Linked DNA regions of Homo sapiens: regions 1, 2, 3 and 4 are each linked to region 5. The links are contacts of gene promoters, found by promoter capture Hi-C in human tissues and cell types (Jung and others, 2019). All regions are on one chromosome and are shown on one strand. Each heading gives the region's core, a stretch centred on a gene start or on the middle of the fragment in contact. The rest is flanking DNA. Distances are from core to core; before and after follow the strand shown.

What was found. The method cuts DNA at HindIII sites, captures the fragments that hold promoters and counts their contacts. A contact is called where the count stands out against the background at its distance.
Region 1: a fragment that was not itself captured here is called in contact with the fragment with the promoter of MAP1LC3A in region 5 in 5 of the 25 tissues and cell types used here (bladder, dorsolateral prefrontal cortex, lymphoblastoid cells and 2 more).
Region 2: a fragment that was not itself captured here is called in contact with the fragment with the promoter of MAP1LC3A in region 5 in 5 of the 25 tissues and cell types used here (IMR-90 fibroblasts, dorsolateral prefrontal cortex, lymphoblastoid cells and 2 more).
Region 3: a contact is called between a fragment that was not itself captured here and the fragment with the promoter of MAP1LC3A in region 5, in 6 of the 25 tissues and cell types used here (dorsolateral prefrontal cortex, heart left ventricle, hippocampus and 3 more).
Region 4: a contact is called between a fragment that was not itself captured here and the fragment with the promoter of MAP1LC3A in region 5, in 1 of the 25 tissues and cell types used here (spleen).

The regions. Positions count from the first base shown.
Region 1 is chr20:34,264,458-34,268,136 of GRCh38, reverse strand. The region is part of intron 3 of ASIP (agouti signaling protein); the gene reads right to left. It also overlaps a transcript of AHCY not described here. Among named protein-coding and RNA genes, the nearest start is that of ASIP, 25 kb to the right of the region's middle. The HindIII fragment of the contact is 9,736 bases long and covers 1-3,679 here.
Region 2 is chr20:34,172,968-34,176,959 of GRCh38, reverse strand. No RefSeq gene overlaps it. Among named protein-coding and RNA genes, the nearest start is that of EIF2S2, 63 kb to the right of the region's middle. The HindIII fragment of the contact is 6,088 bases long and covers 1-3,992 here.
Region 3 is chr20:34,212,129-34,215,726 of GRCh38, reverse strand. It overlaps a transcript of ASIP not described here and the pseudogene XPOTP1. Among named protein-coding and RNA genes, the nearest start is that of ASIP, 27 kb to the left of the region's middle. The HindIII fragment of the contact is 4,701 bases long and covers 1-3,598 here.
Region 4 is chr20:34,859,547-34,863,104 of GRCh38, reverse strand. GGT7 (gamma-glutamyltransferase 7) reads left to right here. Exons shown (of 15, transcript NM_178026.3): 3 at 140-291; 4 at 1,543-1,660; 5 at 2,784-2,851; 6 at 3,063-3,136; 7 at 3,466-3,558. Among named protein-coding and RNA genes, the nearest start is that of GGT7, 12 kb to the left of the region's middle. RefSeq lists an enhancer at 1-72. The HindIII fragment of the contact is 5,237 bases long and covers 1-3,558 here.
Region 5 is chr20:34,556,665-34,560,375 of GRCh38, reverse strand. MAP1LC3A (microtubule associated protein 1 light chain 3 alpha) reads right to left here and starts at 1,658. Exons shown (of 4, transcript NM_032514.4): 1 at 1,468-1,658; 2 at 1,113-1,168; 3 at 923-1,029; 4 at 31-640. The coding sequence starts at 1,507. The coding sequence ends at 478. RefSeq lists silencers at 1,477-1,526, 1,867-1,956. The HindIII fragment of the contact is 19,125 bases long and covers 1-3,711 here.

The DNA.
Region 1 (3,679 bases), core at 428-2,927, 290 kb after region 5:
GAATTTTCAAATTTAATTTTAATTAATTTAAATTTAAAATGTAAAACTGAAGCAATATAAAAATATTCTTCCTCTTAAACACAACTTTTTAGTTAGAACTACATTTTATGCTTGTCAAAACTGAGCATTGGAATGAGATGTGCTGTAAACTATGCACCAGATTTCAAAGATTTAGCACAACAAAAATAAATTATTTCAATAACTTTTTAAATTAATCACATATTGAAATGTTAACATTTTGAATACACTAGGTTAAATAAAATATTACAATTAATTGCACCTTTTTTTTTTTTAAATATGGTTATCAACTGGGTGTGGTGGCTCATGCCTGTAATCCCAGCACTTTGGGAGGCCTAGGCAGGCGGATCACCTGAGGTCGGGAGTTTGGGACCAGCCCGACCGACATGGAGAAACCCGTCTCTACTAAAAATACAAAAATTAGCCCAGCATGGTGGCACATCTGTAATCCCAGCTACTCCCGGGAGGCTGAGGCAGGAGAATTGTTTGAACCGGGGAGGTGGAGGTTGCTGTGAGTGGAGATTGCGCCATTGCACTCCAGCCTGGGCAACAAGAGCAAAACTCTGTCTCAAAAAAAATAAATAAATAAAGTGGCCATAAGCAAATTTAAAATTATGTAGCTCACATCACAGTTCTTTTTTTTTTTTTTTTTTTTTTTTGAGAGCCAGTTTCACTCTTGTCGCCCTCCCAAAGTGCTGAGATTACAGATGTGAGCCACCGCGCCTGGCCTCACATTGTATTTCTATTGGACGCTGCTGCTCTAGGTTACTGAGTTTTTCACTCTATTTAAATGCTACTTCCTTACAGAGGCCTTCCCAGACCACTCTTCCCTTCAGTCTCATTACCGTGCTGTAATTTCTTTGCACTCTTTAACATCTGAATTTATTTACCTATTTATTGATTTACTTGCTGTTCACCTGTTTTCTCCACAAGAATGTAAACTCCATGAGACCAAGGATAAGATATATCTTTCTTATTCACTGCTATGTTCCCAGTGCTTAGCATATAAATATATTTGTCAGTTATATATTTTTATCTGTCAATAATCTCATCTTGCTTGTTCACTTTACAGCCAACAAAATAGGCCTAGAAAAGAGCAGGGACTTTCAAGATCACACAGTGCCAGATCCTACCTCCTAATACCTAATCCAGTGCTCCTTGCTTTGGTTACAGTTGATATGATAAACTGAGGCACACTAAGACAGGAATAAGGTGTGCATTTCAGCAATGCCTCAGTCCAGTATTTCCCAAAGTGGGAACCTGTGTTAATGGTGGTATGATTTTAGGTGGTACGTGAATGTTAAATGATCCTGAATTATACAATAAAAAAGGATTCTTTTTTCAATCTTTTTCAACTTGAAAGGGTCAGTTTGGTGCTAACGTGTCCTTAGTGCCTTTCTAACACTTTATAATCTGCCTTTTTTGTTTGTTTGTTTGTTTGTTTTTGAGATGGAGTCTTGCTGTGTCACCCAGGCTGGAGTGTAGTGGTGCCATCTCGGCTCACTGCAACCTTCATCTCCCGGGTTCCAGTGATTCTCCTGCCTCAGTCTCCCAGGTAGCTGGGATTACAGGCGTGCACCACCACGCCCAGCTAATTTTTGTATTTTTAGTAGAGACGGGGTTTCACCATGTTGGCTAGGCTGGTCTCTAACTCTTAACCTCAGGTGATCTGCCTGCCTCAGCCTCCTGAAGTGCTGGGATTACAGTTATGAGCCACCGTGCCTGGCCTAATCTGCCTTTTATTTTTTGTTTTATTTTATATTATTTTTGAGACGGAGTCTCGCTCTGTCACCCAGGCTGGAGTGTAGTGGCACGGTCTCGGCTCACTGTACTCTGCCTCCCGGGTTCACGCCATTCTCCTGCCTCAGCCTCCCAAGTAGCTGGGACTACAGGCGCCCGCCACCACCTCCGGCTAATTTTTGTATTTTTAGTAGAGACGGGGTTTCTCCGTGTTAGCCAGGATGGTCTTGATCTCCTGACCTTGTGGTCCACCCACCTCAGCCTCCCAAAGTGCTGGGATTATAGGCGTGAGCCACCGTGCCTGGCCATTATGCCTTTTAACACAGAGATTTAGGCCTCAAATTTAGAGCCTTTGGTAGGCAATACCATCCATTCACCCAGAATTTACTAACAATGTTTTAACTTCCCCCCCTCCGCTTTTGTTTTTTTTTGAGACAGTCTTGCTCTGTCGCCCAGGCTAGGGTGCAGTGGTGTGATCTTGGCTCACTGCAACCTCTGCCTTCCAGGTTCAAGTGATTCTCCTGCCTCAGTCTCCTGAGTAGCTGGGATTACAGGCGTGCAGCACCATACCCAGCTAATTTTTGTATTTTTAGTAGAGATGGGGTTTCACCATGTTGGTCAGACTGGTCTTAAATTCCTGACCTAAGGTGATCCACCCTCCTTGGCCTCCCAAAGTGCTGGGATTACAGGTGTGAGCCACTGTGCCCGGCCAACTTTACTTATTTTTATAGTTACCTTCTATTTATGGTAAGTGATACTAGTTTTCTATCATAATTATATACAGTTGACCCTTGAACAATGCAGGGGTTAGGGGCACAAACTCTTTACACACAGTCAAAAATCCTTTTTTTCTTTGAGACAGGGTCTTATTCTGTTGCCCAGGCTGGAGTGCAGTGGTATGATCACAAGTCACTGTAGCCTCGATATCCCAGGCTCAAGCGATTCTCCTACTTCAGCCTCCTGAGTATCTGGGACTACAGGAGCACACCACCACACCCAGTTAATTTTTTAAATTTTTTGTAGAGATGAGGTTTCATCATGTTGCTCAGGCTGGTCTTGAATTCCTGGACTCAAGTGATCTGCCAACCTCAACCTCCCAAAGTGCTGGGATTATAGGTGTGAGCCACCGTGCCTGGCCCTCATATTATTTTTGACTCCTCAAAAACTTAACTACTAATAGCCTACTGTTGGCCAGAAGGAAGCCTTACTGATAACATAAACTGTGGATTAACATCTTTTTATGTTATATGTATTATATACTGTACTCTTATAATCAAGTAAACTGGCTGGGCATGGTGGCTAATGCAGGTAATCCCAGCAGTTTAGGAGACAGAAGCAGCGGATTGCCTGAACTCAGGAGTTTGAGACCAGCCCGGGCAACACCGCAAAACCTCATCTCTACTGAAAATACAAAAATCTGCCAGGCATGGTGGTGCACACCCGTAGTCCTAGCTGCTTGTGGGGCTGAGGCAGGAGGATCACTTGAGCCTGGGAGGTTGAGGCTGCAATGAGCCGAGATGGTGCCACTGCACTCCAGCCTGAGTGACAGAGTGACACCCCATTTCTAAAAAAAAAAAAAAAAAAAAAAATGAAGTAAACTAGGGAAAATAAAATATTAAGAAAATTATTGGATAAGTAGAGATCGATTATAAGAAAATATAAGGAAGTGAAAATACATTTACAGTACTGTACTGTATTTATTGATACCGTAAGTTTACTTCATCTGTTTACAAGATGTATTGTCTGTCTGAAATAGTAAGCAACCAAAGCTTCAGACCTCAACCTATAGTATCAATCAAGTAATTCAAGCAACTTTTTCTTGTAATGTCATGACTCTTCTTTGCTTCTTGGGAACACTTCCAGAATCACTAGTAGCACCTAGTATGGGTCCCTTGGTACTACTCAAGGTTTACAATATTGC
Region 2 (3,992 bases), core at 1,136-3,635, 380 kb after region 5:
AAAAATTACTTGGAACATCTGTAAAATATTTAGATTTCTAGGCTTCTCCCGTACCCCACCCTGCCATTTGGAGATTCTAAATTAGTAAATCTGACATGGGATTCAAGAAACTGCAATGTTAATAATCTCTATTTTTGTCCAGACCCAACCCCTGGGCCTCACCCTCAACCCCATCATGCAGTTGTTCCTCAGACCACTCTCTGATAAATAATCTAATAAAATGTCTCTTTCATTTCAAGCAACGCTTTGAAATGGAGATTTTTTCATTACAGATACTTGTTATTCTGTTAGATATTTTGCTTTGATTTTAAAATAATACCCCTGCAGAGAGATCCCTCTACCCTCCAAGAATGACTGAATATGTTAGCTGTAGATCTCTCCCACTGTTCTGAAGGTAAATTGCCAAGAAATTTGTCAACTGACACATTAGAATACATCTGATTCCCTGTACCTGTTAGAAACCTTTAGGTTCAAACCAGATTTTGGGCTATTTTAATGATCTTCGCTGTACTTCTAAAATGTGTATAACCTACTCTTGAGCACTCTTCATATTTTGCCCTCCTCCTTTACTCTTGTTTTGCTACATTTTCCGGTTCCCCTCCAGAGAAAACCCCATACTCAGAATCAAAGGCAGTGATCTGTCTAGAGAGTCTAGGCAGATGGTTTTTTATAAAAGGGAAGGAAGAGCCAGTAGGAGATATTGTAGGGTATGTTTAGGAGGAGGACAGGATATATTTTGTCCTGGTTTTCAGCTCTGATTTGAAGTCTTCAGCGGATCACAGTACACTGTTTTGAATGTGAGTGGTTATTCTATGTCACAGCCTTTTCCATTCTCCTCAAGCCTTCTTTGCAGCACATGACCTTGTCTCCTACTTTAGGAAGGAAACGAAACTGCCAGTAGTAAATTCCCTTAAGCTCTATCTCCTCCACTTCTTTCTTTCAACTCACTAAAAGAGGAGTCACTCCCTGTGTTCAAGCCCCACCCTTCTACTAGACCTCTTCGTTACACCTCTTTGCCCATCTTTTCTCTCTGTCTTTTTTTTTTTTTTTTTTTTTAAACGGAGTCTCGCTCTGTCGCCAGGCTGAAGTGCAGTGGCGCAATCTGGGCTCACTGCAACCTCTGACCTCTGCCACCCAGGTTCAAGTGATTCTCCTGCCTCAGCTTCCCAAGTGGCTGGGACTACAGGCACATGCCACCATGCCCAGCTAATTTTTGTATTGTTTAATAGAGACGGGGTTTTACCGTGTTGGCCAGCATGGTCTCAATCTCTTGACCTCGTGATCCTCCTGCCTCGGCCTCCCAAAGTGCTGGGATTACAGGCATGAGCCACCATGCCCGGCCTTCTCTCTTCTATATTTACCTTCTTTGTGGAAATAGAACACTTTGGCTAAGCTCTTCAGTCTTGTTTTTTCTATTGTTCTTTTCTCCCTTCCCTCCTCCTGCCTTCCACACCCCTTCTCAAATTCCACTCTATTTCCTTTTTCAGCCCAACACTGCAGTGAAAAAGAGACAGTCTGTCGTCTTCCAGGAGCTTAGAGATTAGTGGGGGCCACAGATTAATAAACCAAGGAAGAGAAGGACATTTCCAGACAGACAATAGCATATGTAAAGGCATAGAGGCCAGAGCAGTACAGCTCTTTCCACGAACTGTACCATGTGGTTAGAGGACTGGGAACAGATGTGGAGGATAGGGTGCCGAGATTGGAGAGAGTGAAAAGGGTCACATATGCCATGCTAACAAAGCTTTACTTGCAGTGCTAAGAGCCTGGATTTTAGTCAATGGTCAGTGAAGAGTTCTCTAACAGTGGTGAAGAGGAAAAGACTGGTGGGGAATTATATTAGAGGCAGGGCAATTAGTTGGAGATTATTGTAAAAGTTCAGCTAAGAAATGAAGAGGACCTAACCTAAGGCACTGGAGATGAAGAAGATTTTTTTCTTTAACAATAGCTTTAAGCAAATTGATTATAAAGTTCCTTGGTGTCATTTTCTTCATGCTTCCCATGTAGGGTTTGTTGAACTTCTTGGGTCTATGGGTTTATAGTTTTCATCAAATTTGAAAAATTTTGGGTCTTTATCTGCTCATTACTATTTGGTCATTATTTCTTTTTTTTCTGTACCCTCCCTTCTCCTTTGGGGTCTCTAATTACACATATATTAGGCCACCTGATGTTGTCTCAAGGCTCGCTGATGTGCTCTTTTTAAAGTCTTTTTTCTCTATGTGTTTCATTTCTTATTGTTTTTATAGCTATGTCTTCAAGTTATTTAGTCTTTCCTTTGGCAATGTTTAATTTGCTGTTAATCTTATCCATTGTATTTTTCATATCAAATACCATATTTTTCATCTCTAGAAGTTAGACTTAGATCTTTTAAAATAACTTCCATGACTCTACTTATCATTTTCAATCTTTCCTCTAGCTTCTTGAACATGTGGAATACAGTTATAAGAACTGTTTTAATGTCTCTGTCTACCAATTCTATCTTCTGTATAATTCTTGATCTGTTTTATTGATTTGATTTTTCTCCTCATTATGGATCACATTTTCCTGTTTCTTTGCAGGCCTGATAACTTTTTTTGAATGTCAGACATAGTGAATTTTATCTTGTTGGGGCTGGTACTCTGAGGATTGTTCCTTCTGCTCTTTTCTGGTGCTACTTTCTCCAGCCTCAGGTAGTTTCTTCAAACTTCTGTTCTGATCAGCACTAATTTCAGGAGGGGGACTAGAGAATAGGAAACAGGGGTAAAAGTCCAGGAAGTAAGTACGCTTAACTTTCTGAATTTCTCATATTGTTAGGCTAACAGAATTAAGTCTCGCTAGGATTCTTGGTAGATCTTAAGGAAATACTGCCATGCTGTAAAAGGACTGAAAAAAGATCAAACTTTAAGAATAGGTCACAGCCTATGATGAGAAGGGTCAAAAGTCAATTCATAAATAAATGACCCAGGAAGTCCCTGGATTGTTCTCTCTACTCTAGAGTCCTTTCTTTATTTGCACGACTAGGTGCTAACTTTGTTCCAGGTCTAAAACGTTTACCTCCTAATTCTAAGGGTGATGATCTTATCAACTCTAATCCTATCTTAAGGGACCAATTTGATTTTTGTATCTCACTGTATGAGTCAGAGAAAAAAGATTTTCTTTGTACATTTGAAAAGTTATTTGTGATTAAGACGTTACTGCTAAGCCCATATTTTTGATAACTCGCCAGGGATAGATTCTATTGACAATTATGAGTGTATGATGCCTTAATTTGTAACTTTTTTTTTTGAGATGGAGTCTCAAAGTCTCCCAGGCTGGAGTGCAGTGGCACGATCTGGGCTCACTGCAAGCTCCGCCTCCCGGTTTCACGCGATTCTCCTGCCTCAGCCTCCCAAGTAGCTGGGACTACAGGCGCCTGCCACCATGTCTGGCTAATTTTTTGTATTTTTAGTAGAGACGGGGTTTCACCGTGTTAGCCAGGATGGTCTCGATCTCCTGACCTCGTGATCCGCCTGCCTCGGCCTCCCAAAGTGCTGGGATTACAGGCAATGAGCCACTGCACCCAGCCAACTTTTTATTTAAGGATGAAAGTGTGGGAAAATGTAAGCTGTTCCTGGAATATGATGAATATACTTTTCAAATCAACACACTCTTTCAGAGACGTTTTTCTTTACATAGAAGAGCAACTAGGCAGCCCTAGCACATTTTAAGAAAAGGGTTTAATAGCAGAAGCTCCAAGACTACCCCAAAGTAGTCAGATTCCAGCAAATCTTAGGAGGGAGGACAAGCCAAGGCATCTTCAAACAACAAAAACTGTAAATCAAAAAAGTGTCTAAGACAGGTCTCAATTGATTTAGAGGTTTATTGTGCAAAGGCTGAGAACACACCCAGGAAAAAGAGAAACAACTTACTACAGATCTGTGGCTTGTGTTGTCCAAAGAGGGTTTTGAGGACTTCAGTATTTAAAGGGGACGGAGCAGGCAGGAGGGGAAAGAGGAACAGCCAATTTATCTGGC
Region 3 (3,598 bases), core at 983-3,482, 350 kb after region 5:
GCTTTCAAGTACTGGAACATCAAGTTAAATACAAATATTCAGAACTAACCACTGTTCAACAACAACTAATTAGGGAGACGCTCATATCATGGCTGCAAGCTCAGATGCTGAATCCCCAACCAGAGAAGACCTTTATACCAAATAAAGCCGCCCAAGTCCTCGCCTTGCTTTTTGTTGCAGAATATCTCACTAAGTGGCCCAAGTTTTTTTTTTGACATTCTCTCAGTAGTGGACCTAAATCCAAGGGGAGTAGATCTGTACCTGCGAATCCTCATGGCTATCAACTCAGAGTTGGTGGATCGTGATGTGGTGCATACATCAGAGGAGGCTCACAGGAATACTCTCATAAAAGATACCATGAGGGAACAGTGCATTCCAAATCTGGTGGAATCATGGTACCAAATATCACAAAATTATCAGTATACTAATTCTGAAGTGATGTGTCAGTGCCTTGAAGTAGTTGGGGCTTATGTCTCTTGGATTGACTTATCCCTTTTAGCCAATGATAGGTTTATAAATATGCTGCTAGGTCATATGTCAATAGAAGTTCTACGGGAAGAAGCATGTGACTGTTTATTTGAAGTTGTAAATAAAGGAATGGACCCTGTTGATAAAATGAAACTAGTAGAATCTTTGTGTCAAGTATTACAGTCTGCTGGCTTTTTCAGCATTGACCAGGAAGAAGATGTTGACTTCTTTTCAGCATTGACCAGGAAGAAGATGTTGGCCAGATTTTCTAAGCCGGTAAACGGAATGGGACAGTCATGGATAGTTAGTTGGAGTAAATTAACTAAGAATGGGAATATTAAGAATGCTCAAGAGGCACTACAAGCTATTGAAACAAAAGTGGCACTGATGTTGCAGCTACTAATTCATGAGGATGATGATATTTCTTCTAATATTGGATTTTGTTATGATTATCTTCATATTTTGAAACAGCTTACAGTGCTCTCGGATCAGCAAAAAGCTAATGTGGAGGCAATCATGTTGGCCGTTATGAAAAAATTGACTTATGATGAAGAATATAACTTTGAAAATGAGGGTCAAGATAAAGCCATGTTTGTAGAATATAGAAAACAACTGAAGTTAGTGTTGGACAGGCTTGCTCAAGTTTCACGAGAGTTACTACTGGCCTCTGTTCGCAGAGTTTTTAGTTCTACACTGCAGAATTGGCAGACTACACGGTTCATGGAAGTTGAAGTAGCAATAAGATTGCTGTATATGTTGGCAGAAGCTCTTCCAGTATCTATCTCATGGTGCTCACTTCTCAGGTGATGTTTCAAAAGCTAGTGCTTTGCAGGGTATGATGCGAACTCTGGTAACATCAGGAGTCAGTTCCTATCAGCATACATCTGTGACGTTGGAGTTCTTCGAAACTGTTGTTAGATATGAAAAGTTTTTCACAGTTGAACCTCAGCACGTTCCATGTGTACTAATGGCTTTCTTAGATCACAGAGGTCTGCGTCATTCCAGTGCAAAAGTTCAGAGCAAGATGGCTTACCTGTTTTCTAGATTTGTCAAATCTCTCAATAAGCAAATGAATCCTTTCATTGAGGATATTTTGAATAGAATACAAGATTTATTAAAGCTTTCTCCACCTGAGAATGGCCACCAGTCCTTCCTGAGCAGCGATGATCAAATTTTATTTATGAGACAGTTGGAGTGATGATTGTTAATAATGAATACCCGGCAGAAAGGAAAGAAGCCTTAATGAGGAATCTGTTGACTCCACTAATGGAGAAGTTTAAAATTCTGTTAGAAAATTTGATGCTGGCACAAGATGAAGAAAGGCAAGCCTCTCTAGCAGACTGTCTCAACCATGCTGTTGGATTTGCAAGTCGAACTAGTAAAGCTTTCAGCAACAAGCAGACTGTGAAACAGTGTGGCTGTTCCGAAGTTTATCTGGACTGTTTACAGACATTCTTGCTGGCCCTCAGTTGTCCCTTACAAAAGGGTATTCTCAGAAGTGGAGTCTGTACTTTCCTTCATCGAATGATTATTTGCCTGGAGGAAGAAGTTTTTCCGTTCATCCCATCTGCTTCAGAACATATACTCAAAGATTGTGAAGCAAAAGACCTCCAGGAGTTCATTCCTCTTATCAACCAGATTACGGCCAAATTCAAGGTACAAGTATCCCCGTTTTTACAACAGATGTTCATGCCCCTGCTTCATGCAATTTTTGAAGTGCTACTCTGGCCCGCAGAAGAAAATGACCAGTCTGCTGCTTTAGAGACAGACTTTTTCAGTGTTCACTTCAAAACTGTCTCAGTCTCTACCTATGACTCAATTCCAAAGCCACTTTCACATTTTTCAGGTGTTGGTTATAGCAACACTCCACTCTCTGGCATTAACTTTCTGTCTTAGACTGTTTTGTGCTGCTATAAAAGCATACCACAGACTGGGTAATTTATAATGCAAAGAAAGTTATTGGTTCACAGTTCTGGAGGCTGGCAAGTCCAAGATAGAAGGGCTGGCATCTGGTGAGGGCCTTTTTTGCTGTGTCATAACATGGTAGAAGGCATCACATGGCAGAAGGATAAAGAAAGGATGGAGGAGAAGGAGCAAGAAGGGTGAACCCACCCTTGCAATAATGATAGCAGCATTAGGTCTATTCACAAGCGTGGAGTCCTCATGGCCTAATCACCTCTTAGAAGTCTCACCTGTTGATACTGTTACAATGGCAACTAAGTTTAAAGTGACTTTTGGAGGGATAAACATTCTAGGAGGCTTCTTGCTTATAGTAGTATGTCAAGTGCTGACTGGTAAGTCCTACAGTCACTCAAAAGCAGTGCTGGAGTTGGAAAATCTTAATTTTGCAACCATCATAGTAAGAATTGATTCAAGTAAGAATCATCAATAGATGCAAGATATATGCACATTCTTAAAGTATTTCCCCTACAGATTGCTTATTAGTTATAAGGGTAAAGAATGGAAATATCTCAATGGAGTGATCAAAATTAACAAGGGCAGGTGGGAAAACATCAGATAAACTCAAAATTAAAATAATTCTATCACACAAAAGAAGAATTTTTTTTCCTCAAAAATGTCAATGTCATAAAAGACAAAGAATGGCTGAGGAACTGCTCCAGATTAAAGGAGATTGTACTGAAGGAAAATAAATACTATATAAGACATTATTGGGTCAATTGTTAAAATTGTAAAATAGACAGTAGATAATGTATTGCATCAATATTAAAATATACTAAATAAGTTTATAGGAGTGATAACTGTACCATGGTTACTTAAGAAAATATTCTTATTCTTTGGAAATTCACAATGAAATATTTAGTAGAAAAGGGTCATAATGTATATGTATGAAATTTACTCTCAAATTTTATGTGTAAAAAATGTGTGTGTGCATGAATGTGTGTGCACATTTGAAGAAAGAGAGTGAACACACAGGCACAAAATAATAAAGCAAATGAGACAAAGTATTAACAATCAGAGATTGGGTGTATGGGAGTTGTTGCAATTTTTCTTACTAGTCTTGTAACTTTTCTTTACGTTATGAAATTATTTACAAATAAAAGTTTAAAGAGTAATCTATTAGGTGAGTTTAATAATAAATTAGACTCAGCTTAAAGCAGAATTGGTGAAA
Region 4 (3,558 bases), core at 786-3,285, 300 kb before region 5:
GGGTAATGAGGGCAGAGTCAAGGCAACAAGGGGGCAGGGCTTCGACCTTCATGCCGCGTAGAGTTCTAGGGCTAGTGGAGGTGCCCTAGGGAGGTGGACAGCTCCTCCTGCCCCCACCAAGTCCTCTTTCCCCTCCCAGATCTTCCAGCAGGGTGCCGTGGTGACCGATGCTGCCCGCTGCACTTCACTGGGCATCGAGGTGCTCAGTAAACAGGGATCTTCTGTGGACGCAGCGGTGGCAGCAGCCTTGTGTTTGGGTATCGTGGCTCCACACAGTTCTGGCCTGGGCGGGTAAGGAGCAGTGGAGGTCGGGGTCCCCCAGGCCTACTTCTTGCCTCCAGGTCTGTAGGCCTCATGTGCAGCACTCCTAACTTAGGGAGAGGGGCTTTTGGGCCCCAACTCCTTGCATTTTCTCTTTCTACACCAAATTTCACCCCCTTCTCCCTGGATGGAGTCAGAAGAGCAAAGCTACCTTATGGAAAACCTGAAAGTGTTTTCAGAAGCTTTTTTTTTTTTTTTTTAACTAGAAAAAGAAATTTGTAAACCATAAATTAAGATGCACAGGTGGAGGTATACTGTCATCAATTAAGGCAGAGATATTTCAACTTCTAGGATCATAAATCCCTATGGGTCTGATGAAAAGCCTTGCACCCTCTGTCCTCCAAAAATACACCCTGCACTAAGAACTCTTAGAAGTTACAAGCTGGCCACCCATGGGCAACACCCAGCACACAGACTGGTTTGGTTTAGACACTGAACTGTCTTAAAATTTTGTTTGCTTTTGTTAAAAAGTTGAGAATTTTCATAAAAATCCAGATTTCCAACATCTCTTGAACAATCGGGAAATCCGATAACAACTTGGGCCCGCATTCTCACATGGCTGAAGTTACCTGGCGTGGAATAGAAGCTGCTTCCCATGATGGGCATGCACTGTCCAGTTTGCCGTAGTTTCTACCACTTCCTCTTCTCTGTCCTGCTTGCCTTAGTTTGTCATTTGGCTGTGGGCATTTAAGTTTGCAGCCCCCATCTTAGACGTAAATAAGCTACAGAAAAGGAACAAGCTGACAAAGTTCCTATCTTGGCTCCTGTAAGACCAGCTCTCCAAGCCGTACCAAAGAAATTCCTCTTTTGGTTTTGCATGTTCTATCCTTACATAATCCAGTCCTGGGGGAGGGGCAAGGGACATACCAAGTAGACAGGTGCAGGAAGCTGGCAGGGGTCCAGCTCTGGTCCAGGGTGGGGGCATGGGGCAGAACATCCTGTTCTGCCAGTCTCTGGGCTTTTCCTAATCAGGGATTAAAGTCTCCAGTGACAGGATAGAAGAGGTCCATGGACCCTGGGTCTCCAACCCTCTTGGTTTTGCTCCCATCCTCTTAGGGTGGCTGAGTCTGTGAATCCATGCTGGGGAGGGAGCTCAGACACCTGACCCCAAATGAAAAACTGAGCCTACAGCTCTCACCACTGGGGGTGGAGGGGCAGCAGATTCATTGTACAGAGGGGTAGCATGTTATCATCACACTTCCCCTTCTGTGTCTCTCCCAGTGGGGGCGTGATGCTGGTACATGACATCCGACGAAATGAGAGCCACCTAATTGATTTCCGGGAGTCCGCACCAGGGGCCCTCAGGGAAGAGACCCTGCAAAGATCCTGGGAGACCAAGGTGGGGACCCTGGTGAGAAGAGAGAGTTCAGGGGAGTCTCTCTTCATTGCCCTTCTGCTAACCCAAGCATTAATTTGCTAAGTATTTACCAGGGGAGTGGGAAAAAGAGTTGAGCAGGATTCTCTTAGGCTATGAGAGAGTCAGGCAGCCCCCAAGATAAAATAATGAACTAGAAAATCTGGAACCTTACTTCTCTGGGAATCTTACCTATCTGGCACGTGGGAAGGAAGAAAAAAGGCTACTGAGTACCCTGAAATGTCACGAAGTTGATGCAATGAAACTCACACATCTCACTCTGAGCCAGTTGACTATAACTTTCCCAGCCCTTGATATATTGGAAGATTAGAGGGGAATTGCCAGAAGTAAACCAACTGTCTGCTGAAAGAAAAAGAAGATATCGAATAACTTGGAAAAATGGGTACTTAGTGCGGTGGCAAAAGCCAAACACACCCCTGAGTCTTCAGAGCTCAGAGTAATGGTGGGGTGAAACTGAATAGGTTAAATGAAGGTCCTTTGTCCACCGTTTTAAAAGGTAGGGTTGCCTGGGCACAGTGGCTCACACCTGTAATCCCAACACTCTGGGAAGCCAAGGCAGGAGGATTGCTTGAGGCCAGGAGTTTGAGACCAGCCTGAGTGACATAGTGAGACTTTGTCTCTACAAAAAATGCTTTGAAATTAGCCAGGCACAGTAGCATGCACCAAGGATCGCTTGACTTGAGCCCAGGAGTTGGAGGCCACAGTGAGCTATGACTATGCCACTGTACTCCAGCCTGGGTAACAGGAAAAAAAAAAAAAAAAAAAAAAAAAGGCAGGGGTTGGTGAAATCCAATGTAGACAGGTGTCTTTCTACACTGGTTATGTCCTGGCTCTTAAAAGAGTTTTGCTTAATTTATAAATCCCCCAACTACGGCAGCTAAAAGAGGCCTTTCTGCATTTGCTGATAGGAAGTCAGGGAGATGGGAGGGGTGCCTGCTTGGGAAAGCTTGTCCCTCCCCTGGGATACTTGGCCTGTGTCTCTCCCCTGTGCCAGCCATCCCTGGCTTGGGGCTCTGCGGAGTTCAGCCCAGCACCCCCCTTCCAGTGACCTGGTCTCCTCTCTCCCTCGCCTACCCGCCTTGCCCAGCCTGGGCTCTTGGTGGGGGTTCCCGGAATGGTGAAGGGGCTACATGAAGCTCACCAGCTCTATGGCAGGTAACAACCCTCCCCCTGGGGACCAGGGACCCCCGTTTGCATCTCTCCTTGGGTGGCCTTCTCCTACTTCCCTGGATTCTTCCTTTCCCAACTCCCCCTCCTAATATCCCCTTCCCTTGCCAGGACTCTCCTTCCCAGGAACCCCCCTCCCCCCGGACCCCTCCTCATTCCCCCAGGACCTCCTCCACCCCCTGCTCTCCGGCCCCCCCAGGCTGCCATGGTCCCAAGTCCTGGCCTTTGCAGCAGCTGTGGCCCAAGATGGCTTCAACGTGACTCATGATCTAGGTCAGTGGGGCCTGGGGATTTGGGAGAGACATGAGGTTGATGGAGAAGGGTAGAATCTTTGAGATTTGGAGCCCAAGCCAGAGAGGCCCTCTCTTCCAGTTTGCTCCTCAGACCCCCTCCCCACCTTATCCCACCCTCACCTGGAGGCGGCCTCAAACGAGGGGGTCTGGGAAGGGCCCTTAGACATCCCTGCCTCGCACTTAACAGGCTCCTGGGGGTCAGGGCACTTAGGGTGGGCCACTCAGCCCCCATCTACCCCATCTATTGCGCGTCTCATCCGGTCCAGTCCTGGCGTCCCGCCCTGCCCAGCCTCCCGTCCCTGCCCCTAGCCCGTGCCCTGGCTGAACAGCTGCCACCCAACATGTCCGAGCGCTTCCGGGAGACGTTCCTGCCATCGGGCCGCCCGCCACTACCTGGCTCGT
Region 5 (3,711 bases), core at 409-2,908:
CACTCCCAAGCAAGCGGCTGGAGGCACAGGGCCAGGCAGGCCTGAGCAATCTTTATTCTGCAGAGGGACAATGACCACAGATCCATACACCACGTGGAGACCGAGGGGCGGGGAGCCAGGGGCCAGTCTTTCAGGGGTGGGCAGGTCCAGGCGGTGGGCAGAGCCTCGGGTGGGTGAGGGGCAGATGGGCAGACAGGCAGGGGCCTAAAAAAAAGATGAACCACACAGCAGGGGTGCTGGGAGCTGCTCCCCACCCTCCCCCATCCCACCAGCCAGCACCCAGAGGGACAACCCTAACACGACCGGCCCAGGATCCACCCAGGGGCAGAGTAGGTGGGTTGGTGCCCTCTGACTAGGGGGGCACATGCCTGCCCAGCCCACCACGGTAGAGGCAGCTCAGTTCAGGAACCAGGAGCTCTCTGGGCAGGGCCTGACCGGGGCCGCCCGACTCCCAGGCCGAGCCCCCCTACTGCTGGCTCAGAAGCCGAAGGTTTCCTGGGAGGCGTAGACCATATAGAGGAAGCCGTCCTCGTCTTTCTCCTGCTCGTAGATGTCCGCGATGGGCGTGGACACACTCACCATGCTGTGCTGGTTCACCAGCAGGAAGAAGGCCTGCGTGGGGTTCAGCTGCAGGCGGCGCCTGCAGCCGGCGGGAGAGTATGCAGCTGTGAGGGGCTTGGCTGCGGGACGGACATAGCCCTGACCCCCAGAATGATTCCCAGCCTTTCACACCCATTCTCACCCCAGCTGTCACCTCTGACCCAACACCGACTGCAGCCCCGACCTTGACCTTTCCAGCCACCCCAGAACAGGGGCCCACCGCCCGGTCCCATCACCCCTGACCCCACTCCCACCCCTTCTCGGCGGGAACCCGGCTCCCCTCCCGACCCTAGCCACCTCCTGGCGGCGGCTGCCCACGCACCGGATGATCTTGACCAACTCGCTCATGTTGACATGGTCCGGGACCAAAAACTTGGTCTTGTCCAGGACGGGCAGCTGCTTCTCACCCTTGTAGCGCTCGATGATCACCTGGGAGCAGGGCGGGCGGGCAGGGGGTCGTGTCGGGAACGCGCGAGGCGGGGGCGGGGCAGGGCTGGGGGTGCGGGACTCACCGGGATTTTGCTGGGGTGCTGGTCGCGGATCTGCTGTACCTCCTTACAGCGGTCGGCTGCGGACAGCGGCCAGACCGTGAGGCCGGGTCGGGCCGGCCCAGGTCCGCCCCGCCTGTCCCGGAGGGGCGGCCCCCGGCCACGCCCCAGCTCCAGCCCCCACCCCCGGGGCCATCAGGCCCCACAGCCCCTGGCACCTATCGCGGTGGGGAAGCGGGCAGCCCCCGCCCAGGCCGGAGCTGGTCCCAGCCCGAGGGTCCAGCCAGAGCCTGACGTCACGGGGCTGACGTCACCTGCGGCAGTCGGGGTCGGCCGGCACCCCTGCCCCAGAGCTCGCAGCTCGCCTGCCGGGCCTCACCGAAGCTCCGCCGCTGCTTGAAAGGCCGGTCTGAGGGCATCGCGCGGGCCCGGCTGGGCGCGCAGGCCGGGGCTCTGGGGCGCGGGGATGTGTCTGCGGTTTGGGGGCTCCGGGGGCTCCGCGCCTCGCGCTCAAGGGCTCCGGGGCTCGCGCTGAGCACGGCGGCTGCGGCTGCGGGAGGTAACTCGCCCGGTGACGTCAGGTCACAACATTCCTTAAAGGGGAGGCCAGTGCGCCGCTCCCATTGGGCCGACGCACAACCCGCCCGCCCGGACCCGTGACGTCACGGCGCAGAGAGCCTGGGTCCGCGGACCGGGACGCGAGGGGCGGGGCTTCTGGGCGCGTCACAGTCCCGTGACGTCATGGGCAGCGCGGGAGCTTCTCCCGCAGCCCGAACTCAAGGTAAGGCCCGGAGGGCGGTGGGGCCGCCCTAGGCCGATGGAGCGGGCGGGCCAGGCTGCAGCCCCACGGCACCACTTCCCGCCCTCACCGAGTCTGTGTCAGGACTGACGCGGTTCTGGGCGCCGTGGGAAACAGCCGGAGCCAAAGGCCCGGCGCCTTCACGGGGCTTAGGGCGAGAGAAGGGAGAAGGTGCGGGAGGCACAGTCAGACACAGGATAGAACAGGATGCTAGAAATGAACGCCCAGGTTTGAAAAAGAATAATATAATTGAAAAGTAGAGCCATCGAAATTCAGGTCTCAGAGGATGAGGTGAGAAGGCAGAAAAGGACAACAGAAGAGAAATCGTGGACCTGGAGGCTGATCGGAAGCAGCTCACCAGAGAGACAGGTGATGGGGAATAAGGAAAAGGGCACAGATGGCAACGCCAGGAGAACTCGCGGGCCCGAGCAGAGCTCCAGAGGCGAACACTGAAAGACCTGCAGAGACAGTTCCTGAAAAAGAGCTGCCAGAAATGATGCTTAAAATCCAGAGCAGAATGCGCAGACTGAAGATCAACATTTTTTTGGGGGAGGGGGGAGGGGGACGAAGTCTCGTTCTGTCGCCAGGCTGGGGTGCAGTGGTGCGATCTCAGCTCACTGCAACCTCTGCCTCCCGGGTTCAAGCGATTCTCCTGCCTCAGTCAGCCTCCTCAGTAGCTGGGATTACAGGCGCCTGCCACCACCCCCAGCTAATTATTGTATTTTTAGTAGAGATGGAGTTTCACCATGTTGGCCAGGATGGTCTCGATCTCCTGACCTCGTGATCCACTCGCCTCGGCCTCCCAAAGTGCTGGGATTACAGGTGTGAGCCACCACGCCTGGCCGCCGAAATAATTTTTAAAGAATGTAGTTTAGTAACAAGGACATGGAACCCAAAAGGAAGAAATTAGATGGAAAAATGGTGAGCAAATTGGTAAACATGTGAATCTAAACAAGCATTTAATATGCAATATGAATAATAATGATTAATTTGTGGGCCACAGAAACAAGATGCATGAGACACAAGAACATGGAAGACTGAGAGGGCAATTTGAGAGGGGGTTAAAGAGACTGAGCATTGTCTGGCTTTGTAAAGTCAGGTGTGTATTTCAGATATTTAAGAGGATCACCAAAAGAATACAAACGGAACTATAACTGCCAATGCAGAGAAAAGGGTAGTGATGGGTATTAAAACTATAATGGAAGGCAGAAAGGGAGAAAAAGGAAGCAAAGTAAAAGGGATGGTAAATATATAGTACAAAACCAGAGGTAGAAAATGTGGTTTACATTCACCTCTTAAAACACAGATGACCAGATTGGCCAAGAAAAAATAAGATGCAGCTCTATGCTATTTACAAGAGGAAATTTAAAACCTAAGGGCACCAAAAAGTAAAACGATGGGAAAAGGTGTACTAGAGAAAAACTAACCAAAAGATGTACCTATAGAAAACTCAGACAAAATAGGCCTTCAGGCAGAAGACACTGGGGATAAGAGGATCAACATGAAATGATGCGAGGAGGAACTCTGTGAAGAGAGGAAAGTTCTGAACTTCTATGTTCCAGGGTTTTTGTTTTTAAGGCTGAAAATAGGCCAGGCGCAGTGGCTCATGCCAGTAATCCCAGCACTTTGGGAGGCCGAGGTGGGTGGATCACTAGAGGCTGGGAATTCAAGACCAGCCTGGCCAACATGGCAAAACTCTGTCTCTACTAAAAATACAAAGATTAGCTAGCTGGGCGTGGTGGTGCACGCCTGTCATCCCAACTACTCAGGTGGCTGAGGCACAAGAATTGCTTGAACCTGCTAGGCGGAGGTTGCAGTGAGCTG